3 separate regions of the Homo sapiens genome follow, and regions 2 and 3 are each linked to region 1. The links are contacts of gene promoters, found by promoter capture Hi-C in blood cells and fetal thymus (Javierre and others, 2016). All regions are on one chromosome and are shown on one strand. The core of a region is centred on a gene start or on the middle of the fragment in contact, and the rest is flanking DNA. Distances in the headings are between cores, read along the strand shown. Region 1 holds the start of SF3B1 (splicing factor 3b subunit 1). Region 2 overlaps STK17B (serine/threonine kinase 17b). Region 3 overlaps HECW2 (HECT, C2 and WW domain containing E3 ubiquitin protein ligase 2).

The links. The method cuts DNA at HindIII sites, captures the fragments that hold promoters and counts their contacts. A CHiCAGO score of 5 or more calls a contact.
Region 2: a contact is called between a fragment that was not itself captured here and the fragment with the promoter of SF3B1 in region 1, in 1 of 17 cell types (erythroblasts). The highest score is 7.3, in erythroblasts.
Region 3: a fragment that was not itself captured here is called in contact with the fragment with the promoter of SF3B1 in region 1 in 1 of 17 cell types (neutrophils); the score reaches 5.1 in neutrophils.

Annotation. Positions count from the first base shown.
Region 1 is chr2:197,433,629-197,436,361 of GRCh38, reverse strand. SF3B1 (splicing factor 3b subunit 1) reads left to right here and starts at 1,334. Exons shown (of 25, transcript NM_012433.4): 1 at 1,334-1,390. The coding sequence starts at 1,363. RefSeq lists enhancers at 886-935, 956-1,265, 507-1,706, 1,451-1,997. The HindIII fragment of the contact is 13,845 bases long and covers 1-2,043 here.
Region 2 is chr2:196,163,696-196,166,428 of GRCh38, reverse strand. All of the region lies in intron 1 of STK17B (serine/threonine kinase 17b), which reads left to right. Among named protein-coding and RNA genes, the nearest start is that of STK17B, 6.5 kb to the left of the region's middle. The HindIII fragment of the contact is 1,306 bases long and covers 751-2,056 here.
Region 3 is chr2:196,264,366-196,267,098 of GRCh38, reverse strand. The region is part of intron 17 of HECW2 (HECT, C2 and WW domain containing E3 ubiquitin protein ligase 2); the gene reads left to right. Among named protein-coding and RNA genes, the nearest start is that of HECW2-AS1, 5.7 kb to the right of the region's middle. The HindIII fragment of the contact is 8,514 bases long and covers 1-2,733 here.

The sequences.
Region 1 (2,733 bases), core at 85-2,584:
AAAAAACAGAAAAAAAATCGTTTGTGTCACCTGATCTGAAGAAGGGAGGGAGTCTGGTGAGAGGGAAAGAGGGAGCAAGGCTGCAGGTCAGGAGTCACCAGGGACAGGTTATCTAAGCTCTCAGTCCAGTGCCATTGTCCATATATCTCCCACCTACCGCTAGCCTCAGGAAAATGGCTCCTCACTTTACCCAAAGTAGATATGGGGTCTTCCTGCAAGAGGAATACACCCATACCATTTCCCTCCCTTCAAACGACCATACTGACCCATGGTATGGTTAGTATTTGGGTTGCAGGTTTATCACATAGCGAGGTACTCCTCTCTTTGTGATGGCTCTAACCTTGATAACTACCTGTTTTCCTCGGCTGCTTCCGGGACCCATCTTTCTGAGCCTTTCTTTCTTTTTCATCGTCGAAGTCAAAGACCAGTGTGACAGTACAAGGTTATATTATAATTGATGCCCAGGAAAACAGACTGCCGTATTCTGATCTATTAAAATTCCTGATTTAGGAATACCGTCTAGGATTTAAGAGAAACATCTAATGAATGTTAATAATGACGATGAGTGGTTTTCTAGGAACCCATAAAGTAAAAGGCTTTAAAAGGGTGGCAAGATTGTCACTGTGCAACTCAGCAACGATTTGTGAGGCTCAACGAAATTCCTACCCAAATTATTTGCAATTATTAAACAGAAAGAATGAAAAATGACCTTGAATTACAGGGCGAAAGATGGGACTGTTAAGACTGTCTTCGTAACTAAGCACTGTAAAGACTGAGACAGCTGCAAGGGAAAGTTTTCCTCGAGCTCTTCCAGTGAATTTTGGGAAAAGGGATTGAATGTCTGAGGTCTCTTCCAGCTCTGAAACCGCAGCGTTTCGTACAGTGTTCATTTTTTTTTAATGGGAGGGGTCTCGGGGTCTTGCTCTGTCGCCCGGTCTGGAGGCTTGAGTACAGTGGCGCGACACGATTACGGCTCACGGCTGCCTCGAACTCCTGGGCTCAAGCGATGCTCCCGCCTCAGCCTCCAGAGTTGCTGGGACTCAGTGTCTGTTCTTAACTCCCTTCGTAGAATCCACTTTCCTCCAGGGCAAAGTTACTCACTTAAGGACCTTACGGCTCGGCTCGGGGATTTCCTGGGTCACCACGCAGGCGACTTCAGGGCCCAACCGTGTCTCCTCCCCCACCCACAATGCACCTCGCGGTTCCCTCTAGGTGGCAGTTCTGTCACGTGTCACCCGACGGAGCGCGCTCCCGTTTGGCGCACGCGCAGAGTGCAGCCCCCAGCTATTTTTCTCCGTGGCGGCGGCGACGAGCGGAAGTTCTTGGGAGCGCCAGTTCCGTCTGTGTGTTCGAGTGGACAAAATGGCGAAGATCGCCAAGACTCACGAAGGTAAGCGGTCTTTCCCTGCTTACGTGTTTTCTTCGTTGCTAGCCTAATAAAAGCCTTTTTTCCTAGGATTCTGCCTTTTTCTATGGTTTCTTTCGTAGGAGCTGAGCCCGCGTTTCGGGGCCAAGGGTCGTCTCCTCCGCGCCAGCGGCGCAGGCCACTGCCCCGCGTAATGGCGTCCTCCTCTTACACCCCCGACAGGCGCTTTGTTCAGTGTTTGGGACCTGCTACTTCAGAGTAGCTTCTCTTCTCTGACCAGAGGGCCTCGTTTAAGCGGCTTCCTCAGTAGGATTCGTGGGCAAGGGATCGGGGAAGCGGGCGTGGGGAGAAGGTCTCACTCGCCTCTCGACACTGTCGTCCCCATAGTTTGTGCAGAAGAGGGTCAGAAAAGCACTGAAATACGGCAGCCGCTTTTCCGGCAGACTGAATCGAATTTGGTTAAACCGAGATTCCGTTACTCCTACCCTTGTGTGTCTTCAAGCGTCAGTTACTTGTTTATTTTTCTTGCACGAAACGATTTGGGGATAAAATCTGGTAGTTGTTTTCCCTCCCTTAGTCACTTTTAGTATAATATTGATCTTTTTCTTTGGAGACTGGTTATTGGAGGAGCAGATGGAAGAGGAAAACATAAATTACTTTCATTAATGGCCGAAGCTTTCAAGCTAGTTGATCGTTTTATGGAATACAGAGTGTGCAAATTAGGAAAACGTTGGGAATAGACTGGAGTTCATTAGGAAGTATCCAGAGATGACAGAAAATGGGATCACTTTTCAGAAAAGACGAGGCATGAGAAGTTGGAACTGCATTCTTTGATTTCTGACTTGGAATCCGAGATTTTCACTGAGAACGAGACTTCTAAGTCACTTTTGTTTCATATGTTCTTTCTGGGTATTTGGCTCGGTATTAGTCTGTGAGAGGTAAGAGACTGAGGCCATCCAAAATTTTACAGTCTGATAGGAGAAACAGATGTGTATGTTCTCATTCTCTCATGAGGCCAGATGCATGCTTAAGTAGAAGAAAAAGCAGCATGTTCTGGGAACCTGGGTAACGGAATGATTATGTTTAGGGTTGTTTCACTGAGGAGGTTACATGACCGTGTTTTAAAAGGATCAGTCAGTTTTAAATCGGGAAGGACATCTGAGCCTGAGAACATCTTGTAACAAGGTATTGAATCGTGAAAGGTGTGTTTGAGTAGTAGTCCACTGTAGCAGGAACAGAGGGTGCAAGTAGAGAAGAAATAAATGAATCTGGAAAGGTTGGATTAGGACCAGAATGTGAATGGCTTTGAATAGTTGGGTCACCCAGAGGACCTGAAGTCCAGCTTTCTGCTATTTATCAAACATGCT
Region 2 (2,733 bases), core at 154-2,653, 1.3 Mb after region 1:
GTAATTTAGAATCGGTAATATGAAGTGTGGTAGAAGACAAGAAAAGGCCTGGGAATTGTTGGAGTTAAAGAGAATTTGGTGGGAAATTTAGGAAGATACAAGAAGGAGCGACAGAGAGCTGACTCATAACCTGCATGTACCTTATATGAAGGGCAACCAGATGTTTGAGGAGGGCTTGGTGGACAAAGGTGACATTCATGCTCCACTATATGCAAAACTGGCCAAAGGAGAGGAAATGGAAAAATATCTTGGCTCTGACAATTGGTTCAGATGCAGTAAATAAAAGGAAAATGAACTTAAGAAATGCTTAATGGATGCCTAAAGCAGCTTGTGATGTAGGTATATTTTTAATAAATAGATGAACTTATGAGGAAATTGGTACCCATATTGATCTTTCAGAACAATGGAAAAAAATCAGTGAAACTGAGCGCTATCAGAACTAAGAAGATACATAAGTAGTTAAAACAGAAAACAAAAATACTTTTAAGAATGAAGTTTAGACTAAGTTGGGATGAGAATTTTGTACATGGAAACAGTACAGCTGTTCAACAATGGCAGGGAACTGCAGGGAGAGTATTTTTGGGTAGAATGTTAATTTTGTTTTGTGGAACAATAGCGATATGCCCTTGTGACTTGCACTGTACCTGTGTCAGTGGACATGAGTTCAGCATATTTTAATTTTTAATCCTTGCAGCACTGGAAGATCAATTCTTTTATCATCCATACTTTAGAGGCAGCAAAATCGAAGCTTTCTTCACCAGTAAAAGGGAATGCGAAGTAAATCACAACAAAATTCCATTTCACCTTCATCACACTAGAATAGCCAAACTTAAAAGTCTGAATTGGGCAAGTATTGTCAAAGTAGTGATAAACCGTCCCATCCAGTGCTAGTGGGAGTGTAAACTGGGGGTGGAAAGAAGGGGCTATGTCTAATATGTTTTATTTTTAATTTAAATGAAATATGACCAAGTAATAAGATTGGAAAGTAAATGTTTGTATATAGTGTTCCTTATCTTACATTTGAAATATTATATATTTTGTTTTCTTTTTAAATAACTGTGTTGCCGCAGATCAGGCGACTTAACAGAAGTATATTTTCTCAACGATTCTGGAGGCTAGAAATCTGGGATCAGGGTGTCTGCGGGGTTGGTTTCTTCTGAGGCCTGCCCTCTTGGCTTGTAGATGGCTGCCTTCTCCTAGTGTGTTCACATAGTCTTTCCTCTGTGTGTGTCTGTGTCCTAATTGGCCCACTTTAATGACCTCATTTTAACTTAATCACCTTTTTAAAGGCCCTGTCTCCAAAGACAGTCACATTATGAGATACAGGGGTTAGGGTTTTTCAACTTAGGAATTTGGGGGAGGACACAATTCAGCCCATAACAATAGCAAAGTTAAATAATTTAATTAAGGTCTCATAGCTGGTATGATGGATGAATGGAATTCAGACCCAGGTGTCTTTCAGTCTAAAGGTTATTCTCAGAATGCTACACTACAACCCTTTGACTCCTAGAGATGTACCCCAAAACTAGTTAGAGCTGTTTCCCCAAAGACTAAGAGATGTAGAGAAAACAATTTTACTATCTAGTTATGTGAAAGCTATAATTTTAATTTAATTTTTTGAGACAAGGTCTCCATCTATCGCCCAGGCTGAACTGCAGTGACGCGTTCATAATTTGAGAATAACACCAAGAAGAGAAAATGTAGAAACTGAAAACGCTGAACTCTAATGACACTGCTTTTTGGCTAAGTAGACTATAGTTGGCATTTGAATTTAAGAAGATAAAGAACAGTACATATAAGTAGAAAATAGGAAAAAAAGATGTCAGAGGAGGAACAAATGCTTAGCGGGTTACTACAGGAGGGTGCTAAAAGAATAATAATTGATATTTTATTAAGTAGGCATAGCAATAAGTCATAAGTGTCTTGAAATATAGTATCTGTTATTGTTTTATGAATGCAATTAATATAATAGTTTTGATAACACTGAATGCATATAAACATCACAAATTTCCAGATACATATATGAGCTTCAGATACAGAACTTCGAAATAAAGCTTTATGTATAGGTTAGTCACTCTTCCAACAAAATTATTGAGCACTTCATACATAGCAGGCTCTGTGCTAGGTCCTGTCAAAGGAGGGACTCTTAAGACCTTTGAGAGTTTCTGAGTTTAGTACTGAAACATAGCCAATCCGTGGAAGAAGTTCTATTTCTTGTAGTCCTTCACGTCAGTAATATAACTCACAATATGTGCATTTACCACCAAATTTCTTTAGCCATGTGAAAATAAGTTTAAAATGAATAATTATTATCTTGTCGTATTAAATTACCTATTATGTGAAACCTATAACTTTATTTATTTATTTATTTATTTATTTATTTATTTATTGAGATAAGATCTCGCTTTATTGCCCAAACTGAACTGCAGTAGCACATTCATAGCTCACTGCAACCTCAAACTTCTGGGCTCAAGTGATGCTCCTGCCTCAGCCTCCCAAGCAGCTGGGACTACAGGTGCGAGCCACTACACCCAGTTAATTTTTAAATTTTTTCATAGAGATGGGATCTCGCTATGTTGCCAGGACTGGTTTTGAACTTCTGGCCTCAAGTGATCCTCCTGCCTCAGCCTCCCAAAGTGCTGGGATTATAGGCGTATACCACCATGTCCAGCTGAAACCTCTATAACTTTAAAGAATGGAGTTTTATGATGAAACTAAGTGATTGTTTGCATT
Region 3 (2,733 bases), core at 100-2,599, 1.2 Mb after region 1:
GTTTCCTCCTTGAGTGCTTCCTATATAACTCCCCTCACCATGAGGACATGATCTGTGATAATTTTTTCATTCTGGGTAGATTAGATCATTCCATATTTTATGTTATCAGGAAATCAGTAACTTGGGAGTCAAGAAATTCTGAACCACAAAAGGCAAATGGATATGTGTCTCAGGATTCACCAGACTAGAGGCAAATGCAGACTTGAACCTTCTATTTCCTTTCATTATCCTATTTGAAGAGCCCTGGGGTTTTGTTAGAGTTTAATTTTACTCTTAATTTTTTTATTTTAAAAATAATGGCCCATTTTGAAGTTTATCAAACAATACAGAATTTTAGTTAATAAAAAGTTAAAGTTTCAAAAGCTATCTTTCTTAAGATAAACCCTAGTGTTCAAAATTGCTAACCTATTTCTTTTCTAGCTTTGTGGCAAATGAATTTTTCTGCATATAATATTAGACTGGAAATGTTAGTCTTGGTTAACAACTGAAGTACTTGGTGAAAATAGCATGAATTTACTTCTGATGATCCATATGCATTTTCCTGTTAAGACCTGCCTAGCTCTCTCCCTTAGTCCTCTCCTGATTTGTTTACTTATCACTCAGATGTCTGGACCAACATGGCAAACTTCTGATCTTTGCTGTACCAAACTTAAATAATAGCAAATCTGGACTGAGACTATTATTTTCCTACAGACAGTTTACATAGGGATAATTATTGAATTTTTAAAGACACCTTTTTTTTTTTCTTTTGAGGCAGGGGGTCTCACTCTGTTGCCCAGGCTGCAGTGTAGTGTCGCGATCACAGCTGACTGCAGCATCAACCTCCTGGGCTCAAGCCATCCTCCTGCCTCAGCCTTCCAAGTAGCTGGGACTACAGGAGCACACCACCTTGCCCCGCTAATTGTTTTGTGTTTTTTTTTTTTTTTTTTTAATAGAGATGGAGTCTTGCTATGTTGTACAGGTTCATTTTGAATACCTGGGCTTAAGAGATCCTCCTGCTTCAGCCTCCCAAAGTGCTGGGATAACAGGCATGAGCCACTGTGCCTGGACACCTGATTAAAATAATTTATTGACACCACATAGTAATGGTCATTGGGAAGTCCTAATAGTAGACTCTGTCTCACTGGGAGAGCAGCAGTAATGGCTCTTAGAAGGTAGTTGAGTATAGCTCTTAAGATTTTGTTCAGGTTTGGAGCCAGAAAGGCCTAGGTTTGAATTCTGGCTCTGCAATTTACCCACCAGGTGACTTCGAATGAGACATTAAACAACCTCCAAGTTGTCATCCTCGTCTGTAAAATGGGGATCGGAATTTCTAACTTCCAGCATCTTTTTGAAGATTAAATGAAATAATATATGTATAAACCATTTGATACTGTGTAAGCATAGTAAGCATATAGTAAATTTAAATCAATATTATATTAGTAGTGTGCCCTTCACTTCTTTGTTCTATCAGAAGGACTCAGTTTAAAGTAATTTGCCCCTAAACTTACTCTAATTCTAAAAACCACTATTCCTGAAATTAATCATGCATATAAATGGACCAGTGTGATTCTGTGGATATAATTTAAATGCAACTAGGATCTAGGATCTCTTTTCCTTTTGGGGGTGGGGAGCGGACAGAGTCTCACTCTGTCACCCAGGCTGGAGTGCAGTGGGCACAATCTCGGCTCACTGCAACCTCTGCCTCCCGGGTTCAAGCAATTCTTGTACCTCAGCCTCCTGAGTAGCCAGAACTACAGCAATGCACTACCATGCCCGGCTAATTTTTGTATTTTCAGTAGAGATGGGGTTTCACCATGTTGGCCAGGCCAGTCTTGAACTCCTGGCCTCAAGTGATCTGCCTTCCTGGGCCTCCCAAAGTGTTGGGATTATAGGCGTGAGCCACCCTGCCTGGCCATCTTTAATTCAACTATTAATTTGTTTATAGGAGGGCTTTTTAGTGGTGCTGTCACATTGTTTCCTACAGGGAGCGTTACTCTAAAATATTTTACATTTACACAATAAAACCAGCCTTGACTGCTCCATGCCTAGACTGAGGACTGAGCCTTCTGGCTCAAGGTTTAGCTGGAAATTACTGAGGGCCAAAATATCATGGCAATATCATTAAGATAACGTTTTAGAAGCCATCCAAAGGTATATTAAAATACCTTTCCAAGGAACTAATTATCTTGTAGGCCTATTAAGAGATTAGAGACTTTCTTCTTCAGGGCAGTAAGGAACACAGATTCTTAGAACCTGTCATCTATTCTATGACTTCTGCAAAAGGAATAAGTGCTAGTCATGTTTTATTTGAATGGATGTACTAATTTATAGATCTGCATATGCTTTTGAATTGTATATCACGTATATATCTAATTTTCACATTTTTGATGCATGGAATCTCTTTTAACTATTAATGTCAACTTGAAGACAACTGGACAGTCAATCACCTAAAATTTAAAAGGCCCAAAACAGGAACTCCAATAGCCAAAATTAGTTTAGGTTCTTTTCATAGTATCACTCTCAGATATTTGTTAAATTATTTTCTGATAAACATTGTTCTCTGATGTAACTTTGAAAGATTCCCCAAATTATACATGCATTCATCCACTGGATATTTCTCCAAAGTATTGTGTTTTTTTGCTAATAAGTGGTTCAATCATGATTTTCAAGATGGTTTTCTTACATGAGGAATAATAATATTTTAGGTACATCTGTTTTACTGTTGATTTTTCCTACATTCTGTTATATTTA